Regions from separate parts of the Homo sapiens genome. Here region 1 is linked to region 2. Evidence: promoter capture Hi-C in 16 types of primary human blood cells and fetal thymus (Javierre and others, 2016). All regions are on one chromosome and are shown on one strand. The core of a region is centred on a gene start or on the middle of the fragment in contact, and the rest is flanking DNA. Distances in the headings are between cores, read along the strand shown. Region 1 overlaps PSMC2 (proteasome 26S subunit, ATPase 2). Region 2 holds the start of NAPEPLD (N-acyl phosphatidylethanolamine phospholipase D).

Evidence for each region. The method cuts DNA at HindIII sites, captures the fragments that hold promoters and counts their contacts. A CHiCAGO score of 5 or more calls a contact.
Region 1: a fragment that was not itself captured here is called in contact with the fragment with the promoter of NAPEPLD in region 2 in 1 of 17 cell types (erythroblasts); the score reaches 5.1 in erythroblasts.

Annotation. Positions count from the first base shown.
Region 1 is chr7:103,360,355-103,365,424 of GRCh38, forward strand. It overlaps PSMC2 (proteasome 26S subunit, ATPase 2), which reads left to right. Exons shown (of 12, transcript NM_002803.4): 5 at 1,603-1,734; 6 at 2,332-2,404; 7 at 2,990-3,085; 8 at 3,789-3,953. It also overlaps a transcript of SLC26A5 not described here. Among named protein-coding and RNA genes, the nearest start is that of PSMC2, 15 kb to the left of the region's middle. The HindIII fragment of the contact is 704 bases long and covers 1,585-2,288 here.
Region 2 is chr7:103,145,514-103,150,556 of GRCh38, forward strand. It overlaps NAPEPLD (N-acyl phosphatidylethanolamine phospholipase D), which reads right to left and starts at 3,586. Exons shown (of 5, transcript NM_001122838.3): 1 at 3,298-3,586. LOC105375434 reads left to right here. Exons shown (of 3, transcript XM_047421168.1): 2 at 3,505-5,043. The coding sequence ends at 4,307. The HindIII fragment of the contact is 3,849 bases long and covers 884-4,732 here.

The sequences.
Region 1 (5,070 bases), core at 687-3,186, 210 kb after region 2:
CAGCCTCTTTTTTTTTGGTAGAGAATGGGTATAATTCTTCTTCCCTAGCAAACATGGTTGGTAACAGAAAACAGAGTCCTTCACACAATTATGCTATCAGGACAAAGCATTCTTTTTTAGCCTTGACCTCCTGGGCTCAAGTGATCCTCCAGCCTCAGCCTCCTCAGTAGCTGGGACTACAGGTGCATCCCACCACACCTGGCTAAGCCAAAGCATTCTGTACCTTACTTTTAGCTCTACCTATGTGCGCACTCCACAGGCTATTTTTGTATTTCTCTGTAATTCTTGCTGTGGCTTATGTAGCAGCTTTCTAATGTGAGTTCTGTTTTTTGTTTTTGTTTTTCTTTAGTAGATAGATACTATAGAAGGGGAAAGGCGGTTGACTATTTTATACTGTGATGTGCATGGCATTATAAATTCATTTTTACCAGGCCATATGGAAATGAATATAATTAAGTTAAAAATAGCTTCTACTGGCCGGGTGCAATGGCTCACGCCTGTAATCCCAGCACTTTGGGAGGCCGAAGCAGGTGGATCACTTGAGGTCGGGAGTTTGAAACCAGCCTGGCCAACATGGTGAAACCCCGTATATATTAAAAATACAAAACAATTAGCCGGGCGTGCTGGCGCATTCCTGTAATGCCAGCTACTTGGGAGGCTGAGGCAGGAGAACTGCTTGAACCCAGGAGGCGGAGATTGTAATGAGCCGAGATCGCACCACTGCACTCCAGTCTGGGCTCCAGAGCAAGACTCTGTCTCAAAAAAAAGAAAAAGAAAAAAAAACAAGCTTCTACTGCCTCAGTTAAAAAAAGAAAAAAGTAGCAAAAACAATAAAAATGGATTTAAAGTCCGGGTGTGGTGGCTCACGCCTGTAATCCCAGCACTTTGGGAAGCTGAGGCGGGCGGATCACCTGAGGTTGGGATTTCGAGACCAGCCTGACTAGCCTGAGGTTGGGAGTTCAAGAGAAACCCCCTCTCTACTAAAAAAAAAAAAAAAAATACAAAATTAGCTAGGCATGGTGGTGCATGCCTGTAATCCCAGCTACTCGGGAGGCTGAGGCAGGAGAATTGCATGAACCCAAGAGGTGGAGGTTGCAGTGAGCCAAGATCACACCATTGTGTTTCAGCCTGGGCAACAAGAGTGAAACTCCATCTCAAAAAAAAAAAAAAAAAAAAAAAGAAAAACGGATTTAAAGTATAAACTCAGGAAAAGAATGAAAACCCATTTATTACTGAATTTGGTGTAAGACAAGATGACCATCTTTTTGTAGGGAAAATAAAAACGAGAGCAACTTAAGATATACAGGAGCATCACTAATAATAAAGGAATACAAACTATGGAAATCAAGAAATCAGAGAACTTCTTAATGATGAGATATTTGGGTTTAATTTTCCAGGAGAATGTATTTGAAAATTTTATGACTTGGCTAAAGTCGAATGGACCTTTGGAGTTGGGTATAGAAAAGGATCTTTAACAGTGTCCCAGTTTCTGTAGTTCTAGTTTATACCTGTATATTGCACACTCAGGATATAATCTAGTTAGTTGAATTCATTATTAGTGGCTTAGGTTCCTTATTCTAATCAAGCTTTTTGCTGTGTTAGGTGTACAAAGATAATCAATGCTGATTCGGAGGACCCAAAATACATTATCAACGTAAAGCAGTTTGCCAAGTTTGTGGTGGACCTTAGTGATCAGGTGGCACCTACTGACATTGAAGAAGGGATGAGAGTGGGGTAAGATTTCTATTTACAATAAATACTTTTCTTTCACTAAGGATACTGTCTCACATTCATATCCTTGGCTTTGTAGTGAATAAATGGACTGAGTTCCTTGGAATACCAAAGGATGATCTAGTAATGTACTATAGTTGAAAATTCTGTCTTCTGCATCTGCTTCCTAACTTCCCATCGGCTTCGCTGACTCCCCTACTCCCACTGTTGTTTATTATGAATGGCTTCAAATTTCAGAGTTGAGGTTACCAGTCCATTTAAGGTAACATGGTATAGGTTGGGGGAGTACTTGCTTTAGGATAGTTGTGATGCTAAGTGTGTTAATGTCTATAGAATACATAACAACTCACTTAGTAAATTAAAAAAAAATCTCCCCTCCCTCCTCAAAGGTTTGATTGCTGTTGGATAGGTTGTTTGCGACATTAGACATGTAGTTTAGTATCCTCAGATTTCATGCTCTCTTTATTTCTCTTTATATAATTAGGGACTCTGTCTCTCTCTTGTTTTCTTAAAGTATGGTTTTGGGGATAAAGGACTAAACATAAAAGCACTTTGAAAGCTTAAAGAATGTATTAATGACTATCTTTTTTACTTCCTTAGCGTGGATAGAAATAAATATCAAATTCACATTCCATTGCCTCCTAAGATTGACCCAACAGTTACCATGATGCAGGTAAGAAACTATGGGAGGGAAAAGGAAGGCTATGTCTTTTTTTTTTTTTTTTTTTGAGGCGGAGTTTCACTCTTGTCCAGGCTGGAGTAGAATGGTGTGATCTTGGCTCACTGCAACCTCTGCCTCCCGGGTTCAAGCAATTCTCCTGCCTCAGCCTCCCGAGTAGCTGGGATTACAGGCACCCGCCACCACGCCCAGCTAATTTTTGTATTTTTAGTAGAGACGGTGTTTCACCATGTTGGCCAGACTGGTTTCGAACTCATGACCTCAAGTGTTTGGCCTGCCTCAGCCTCCCAAAGTGCTGGGATTCCAGGCGTGAGCCACTGAGCCCGGCAGTATTTTATATATATATTTTTTGAGACAGAGTCTCAGCCTGTCTTTATTTTACTAGTTTGTTTTTCATTCATTAGTGTCATAACAAGTTAATACAGCAAGTAGTTCCAGGGCACTGGGCAATGTATTCAATTTTTATTAAAATTCTCACTTGTGAGTTTTTCTTTTAAGGTATTAGGTCTATTCTATTGAATTTGGACAGTATCCAAAAAGCCTGTGACTGTATGTTGTACATTTCTGTCCCTCTCTTAGGTGGAAGAGAAACCTGATGTCACATACAGTGATGTTGGTGGCTGTAAGGAACAGATTGAGAAACTGCGAGAAGTAGTTGAAACCCCATTACTTCATGTAAGTAGCTGAGTGTTGTATTTAAATTTCTTTGTATAAAGATGTCTTTTGTGTATTGAGCACTAAAATTGCTTGTATATTAGATGGCTTTTAATATTTTCCCTAATGAGAGTTTTTTGAGAGGGTGGAGAGAGGAGGTGTGGAGAGTTGGTAAGTTCTAGGGGAGAGCAAGCAAAAAGGATTGAGTGGTCAGGTATATTTAAAAAAGAAAGATCTGCTGTTTACAGTGACAGAGGAGGCACAGTGTAACCTTTAGCAATATGTTAAATATGTTACAGGCTATTATAGAAGAAACTGGTTCTTCAAAAGACATCGAGAAGAAAGGGGCTTAAATTGAAGCAGGTTAAACTTGGGAGGATAATGGAAAACTAGGATACTGAATACCAGATAATTTTGTTCCTTAAACACCATAATTTTTTTTAAATTAGGAAAATATTTTAAGACTGGATAATGGAAGTGCTTTTTAAAAGCCATTTAGTCTTATGTATTGATAGAAGTCCAGTTTAGAACTTATGTCTTAGAATAAGTAAAATTTCTTATTTAGTTCAAGTATGTATATTGTGGACTTAATAATTTTGATTTAAATATTAAAGTATGGTTTTCAGGATAAAATACTAAACATAAAAGCACTTTGTTGATTTAGAAGTAGTCTGATTTTTGTTATACAGAAGTGGTAAGTGTGAAAATTGTGTCTCTATCACAGCCAGAGAGGTTTGTGAACCTTGGCATTGAGCCTCCCAAGGGCGTGCTGCTCTTTGGTCCACCCGGTACAGGCAAGACACTCTGTGCGCGGGCAGTTGCTAATCGGACTGATGCGTGCTTCATTCGAGTTATTGGATCTGAGCTTGTACAGAAATACGTCGGTGAGGTAAAGTAAATTTATCAAAGAATATATAGCCTTGTGAAAGATTTTACAGTATGAATGAAATTAAAAATGGCACTTCTGCATTGAGGGATCCAGACCTGAAATTTCTTTTTTCTTTTGTTGAGACAGAGTCTCATTGTGTTGCCCAGGCTGGAGTGCAGTGACATGATCTCAGCTCACTGCAGTCTCTACCTCTCTGGGCTTAGGCGATCCTCCCATCTCAGCCTCTCAGGTAGCTGAGACCATGGCTACATGCCACCACACCCAGCTAATTTTTCTATTTTTTGTAGAGAGGGGTTTTACCATGTGGCCCAGCTGGTCTCAAACTCCTGGGCTCAAGTGATCCATCTGCTTTGGCCTCCCAGAGTGCTGGTAGTATAGGCAAGAACCACCACGCCCGGCCTGAGACCTGAAATTTCTTGATTGTAATTAGTAGTTTAGAAGCTGCCTTTGTGGTCATTTGGAGATAGGCAACCACTTAAAATTTTAACCAGTATGCCCCCTCCTCAAAAGGGTGACATTTTCTACAGATGTGGCTTTTCTACGGAAATGCCTGGTAAATTAATTAAAAAGTATACTTTTACTTCAGGGGCAGTGTTTTCAGTCCTAATGAGAAAGTGAGAACATAGGTTGTTTTTATGTTTGTAGACATACATATATATATATATATATATATATATTTAGAGAATAAGTCTAGGGCTATATGTATTGTATCTGAAACCTGTTGATGATTCGTATATTTACAATAAGAATTAGCTACGGAGCTGCGTGAGTTGAGGTATCCTTTTATTCCCTAACTAAAACTTGCAAGTCAAATTCAATGATCAGGAATTCCAAGTGATAGATCAGATGCTTTTATTTACTCAAGTTTTACTAATTAGAATGGTTCCTTTATTTAACTATTAATTTGACCTCTTCAGATCTGAAACCTATTGCTATTTAATAGATACAGAATCATGAAAATGACTTAATATTTTAAGGCTGGCAAGATTAATTTGGTGGACTGGGGAGCAAACTTCAGTCTTTTTTAAAAAAAGTTTAGATAGGCCAGGCACGGTGGCTCATGCCTGTAATCCTAGCACTTTGGGAGGCAGAGGCAGGCGGATCACCTAAGGTCAGG
Region 2 (5,043 bases), core at 2,336-4,835:
CAATGTTTCAATTTTGAGGTAATCATGACAGGCTAAACTCCTGTGACAGCAGAAATTAAAAATATGCACATTAAAGAGATTGGACCAGGTACATTCCCTCTAAGGTCCCTTCCAACTTGAACATTCCATGACAGAAGTCATCACTTGTGTGACCCTTTTACCTAATCGGTAAACCAAGTCAGGCCAGAGAGTTACATGACATTCCAAGGATCTAGCTCTGGCTGATGATGGAGCCTGGACTACGTATCAGCCATGCTGTCACCCTAATTATGCTTAAAAACACTTGGAACCGAAGGGGCATACAATCAGCATAGGAAGATAAATGACACATTTTACTTTATGTGGGGTATTTTACTTAGTTTGGCTTCAAGTTTAAAAAAAAAAAAAGAATTTGAGTCCAGAAACTCTTTAAGCTTTCATTGGCTACTTTTACCATAAAATAGCACAACATTCTGGAAAACACACACACACACACGCACGCACACACATATATGTTCAGAATATATAGACAGCTTAGTTTAGAGAGCTTTCCATGAGCTCTCTAAACAAACTGAAGGAACAAACACAGTAACTTGAACAGAGAACATCTTTGTAATTGAAGGACCTTCAAAATACAGAAAATAATAACTTTCAAAACTAATGACTGCTGTCATCCGGGTGTCCTATTAAGATGTGACCAGTTTTAGCTGGGTGTGGTGGCACATGCCTGTAATTCCAACTTCTCAGGAGGCTGAGGCATGAGTATCGCTTGAACACACGAGGCACAGGTTGCAGTCAGCCGAGATTGCCCCACCGCACGCTAGCTTGGGTGACAGAGCGAGACTCCGTCTCAAAAAAAAAAAAAAAGATGTGACCAGTTCAAGAGTGCTAGTGACAATGAGAAAGCTTGGTGTTTCTCTATTCATTCTTGTAATTGAGAGAGATTACAAAATCACGCAGAAGCCTACAGGCATTCAGTGTTAAATCAATATATTACTGTCCCTTAATCTGGGAAGGTGCCCAAATTAGATAAACACAAGAGTCTGCACCTTCAAGGGGAAAAATGGATTGTTCCAGGTAGCAGGCACAAACTGAGTTGTTTTTCAATCAAGATTTTGAATTATGCTGATCCATCTACATGCCAGACCTGTGCCTCCAGAGCCAACAGCACTGGCCATTCACAACCTGTTACCCACAGGCAGGGGTGCAATCTGTGAGTGTGTTGCTGACCAACGCTTGCTAATCCACACCCCTCCACTTTCGCTTCATTGGAACCCCGCTGTAACAAGAGTCTGCAGTGTATATATTCTGCTGAAGGCTGGGGCTGCTGAGCTAAGGTTCCTTGGCCAAATCACCAGACTCTCCCAGGCTCTTGGTGTCCTATTTTCCTCATCTGTGGAACAAGGCTCATATTTTATGTCTATAAAATCAAACTCTCTCTATATATATACATATATTTAAAATATTTGAAAGAGCTTTGTAAATGATAAAGTTATAATACATTATTTAACCAGCTGAGGTTGCAGAAGACTATCTCTAACATAAAACTGCCCCTGGGGATATATGAGTTCGTATGCAATCTGTCTCCAAAGTCTGTTAGTAAAATACTTAAATACACAATAAATGGTTAATAAATTCAAAAGACAAATCAAGCAAAGCACTATAAATTGTAGACAGAATTATTCAGTAGTATAGGCGTTAGAATGAAATATTACTTGAATCTTATGCTGGAAATCACATGGGTGATATTTTAATGCCAGTTTTATGCATGCCCTCACTGGCCTCCAGAATAAAAGTGCTCTTTAACGATTAATTATACATACAGTTCATTTCCCTAATAATACTTCAATGAAAACACTTTTTATGTGTATGCATTTCAACCTAAAAAGCCCAGATCAACAGTCCTCCAGCTATAGCTATATTCTTATTTACAAAGTGTAGAAAGCAATGGAAAAACTCACTATATCCACAGCTATCCATCACCACAAAGAAAAAGCAGAATGAAACAACAAAATTAAAGGCAAATACTGCTTTTCCAAACACAGACTAAATGTTCATAAAAATCCTCTCAGTTTACCAAACTCACAAATACTCAAAGTAACATAATACCCCTTTCGAACAAACACAAGAATGACTGTATCAACTAAAGTATAACCAAAACCCTGTGATGGAATGCTTATGCTAAAATGTTCTTCATATAGTTATAACTGGACTAATTTTAAAATTAGAATTTTGTAACATAGAATTTCTACAATATAATTTGGAATTCTGAGTGAAAATAAGGGTATGAGAAATACACTAAGTATTTTTATCTCTTGGAGACTTACCATAATTCTTGTAGCAGGAAAGCCTGCAGAATGTTAACAAAACAAAATCTCTGAAAATCCTGACTATATTTTCAGTTGACTTGAAACAAATTTAACCCCTCAATCTCTCCTTAAATTATTATTTTAAATAAGTACTTTTACCCTAAATTTCTTCTTTAACAGACCCAGTATTTTCTTGCAACAAAAATCACACTATTGTGGGATATAGGTAATCTTCTTTTTAAAGATTACATAACTTCTTTCTAAACGATGTCCATGTCTGCGGCTAATTCATAACCAATGTAACTGAAAATAGAAATGGAAATGTTAGAGATTTCCATTTTTTAACAAACATGGGAATTATTTCTCAATTTGAAGAACTGCATCTCAGGAATGACTTCCTGGACAAATTAATCAGAATTATCAAGTAGCAAACATTTCATGCTAAGCCAAAGCCAACCAGGTGAGTCAGTCATATTATAACATGTATATATAACAACGTACAGTAAAGGCAAAGACAAGAACTAAATGACTTTTTAAAAGGCTGTTAAACTTTACTCACTCCCTTAATATTTTCCAGGTTTAACTGACGTATAATGAATGCATGTGATCCCGGAACCCATGGAAGAGTATCTACCATATCGAGCTCTAGCTTGAAAAAAAAAAAAAAGGAAAAAACAAACAAACAAAACAACAACAACAAAAACCTATCTGAATACGTGTTCTGAAAAGCCCACAATAATACCCAATTTATAAGAAGCAAACAACCACAGAACAGAAAACTCAAGAAAGCACAGCCTTCCACCACCCCTCCCCAGCTAGCCCCATTTTTTTTTTTGCTCTTCATTTCCATTCCATAGTTAAATAAGTACACTTATTCCAAAATAAAAGGGGAGAAACCTGTTGGAATGGATTTTTAGAAGATAAACACTATAGATGAAGCAACAATAAGTTGCTCGGAGGAAGTTGTCGACCCATTCATTTACATACAACCAAAAGAAGATAAACCCACATGTATTCCTATCAGTGAAGATGCAACCTGGTAATTTGCAGGGAAGATAGGATCTCAAATCCCAGACAGCTACTCTCCCAAAGAGAAAAAAAATAATGCTGTGGCTCTTCACCGAGGCAGCTTCAGAGATGCAGGCTCCGCAACTCGCGAGGTGCGAAAATTCAAATGAAGCCCTGTCGCTCACAAGTGCGGCATCTCCGAGATGAGGGAGGGCTCGGGGACGGGAAACCCACTCTCAGCCCGCTCCACTTCGCCGAAGAATTCCAAACCACCCCAGGCTCAGCAGTGTGGATTGCTCCGCCCAGAGACCGTGGAGGAGGCAGCAGAGAGGTCACAGAGCACAGCAGGCGGGAGAAAACCGCCTCCCGCGAGGTCCAACAGAAACCACGGAGCTCCGGACACTCGGGATCCCGGGCCGCGGGCGCGCGGCCAGAGCGGCGGGGTGCGAGCGCGGGGGTGCGGACTCACCTCGCGCTTGGGGTGGCCGGGAGCGCGCGCCGCCTCAGTTCCGCGGCTTCCGGCCACAGAGTCCCCGCGCAAAGCGCCGCCGCGTAGCGGGAGGGGCGACCGCGGCAGGCGCTCGGGTTCTTCCTAACCCGAGCCCGCCGCGCTGGCTCCGCCGAGGACGCCAGCAGCTGCAGGCAGCGCTTCAGCTCTCGCCGCCTCGCCATCGTTGGGGCGAGTCGTCGCCGGGTCACTCCCTTATTATGACCTTCGAATCTGACAGCAGGGCCAGCGGTGGCCTCCTTCAGGCTGCCTCTCCAGCCCTTACCAAGATGGCCGCCCCTGTGGGCCGGGGCGCCGAAGCCATCTTGGTAAAGGAAGCGCCTGGGAGCACGCGGCCTGCCCCGGCCCGCCTCGCGACTCAAACACTCTGCAGGGACCCTCCTAAGATCAAATTGGTTCCCCCCGCTGTCCTAAGCCAGAGGCTTACTTTCAGATCGCATGAACGCATTCCTGGACACCAGCCACAGTTGCTAAAACTAAATGGGATCCTGCAGACCCATTGACGGACTGTCATAGCCAACTCAATCACAGTCGAGAAGCATTTGAATACTTACAGCCTATGGCGCTAGGATCCTGGTAGCGAAGAAACTAAACTCTAATTTGAAATGTTGTACAGTACGTATTGAATATTAATGGGAGCACGGCATTGTTCACTGTGTGATCGTTTACTTTTAAAATGATGTCACAGCCCCCTGGTACACACGGTTCTCATCTAAATTTGCATCTTTTTTAACGCTAGGATAACTATGAAAGAGCATACGATTGTGATTCTGAGTTTCTTACTGGATTTGCTTTTTAAACTGCAGAATGAAATTAGTTGTTTCAAGAAGTAAAGTACAGGCATGTCGAAGTAAAATTCAACAATGGGTTGTTGGGCAAAAAGATTATAAAAGTCCTGGGGTGTGCCAGGGTCAAAAAAAAAAAAAAAAGCTTGTCCCTGGGGTTATCTTGGCAAAAAAGAAACCACCACCACAGGTTCTAAATGCAGATAAGACTGGCAGAAAAATGCAGACCAAACTATTCTGCATTTTGAAAGTGAATGTGCCTGTGTGACATTGGAGGAATGTAAAGAACTGTATGTCAAGTGTGGACTTTATCTCCTCAGGCTAGCTTAGAGTGGCTGCTGAACTTAAGGGTGATTAAGAGCTGCTTGCACCTGGGTGGAGCTGAAACTGCATAAGGTGAATAATACCTTTGTGCAACAGAAGAAAAAAAAAAAAGTAACAGCATACATACAAA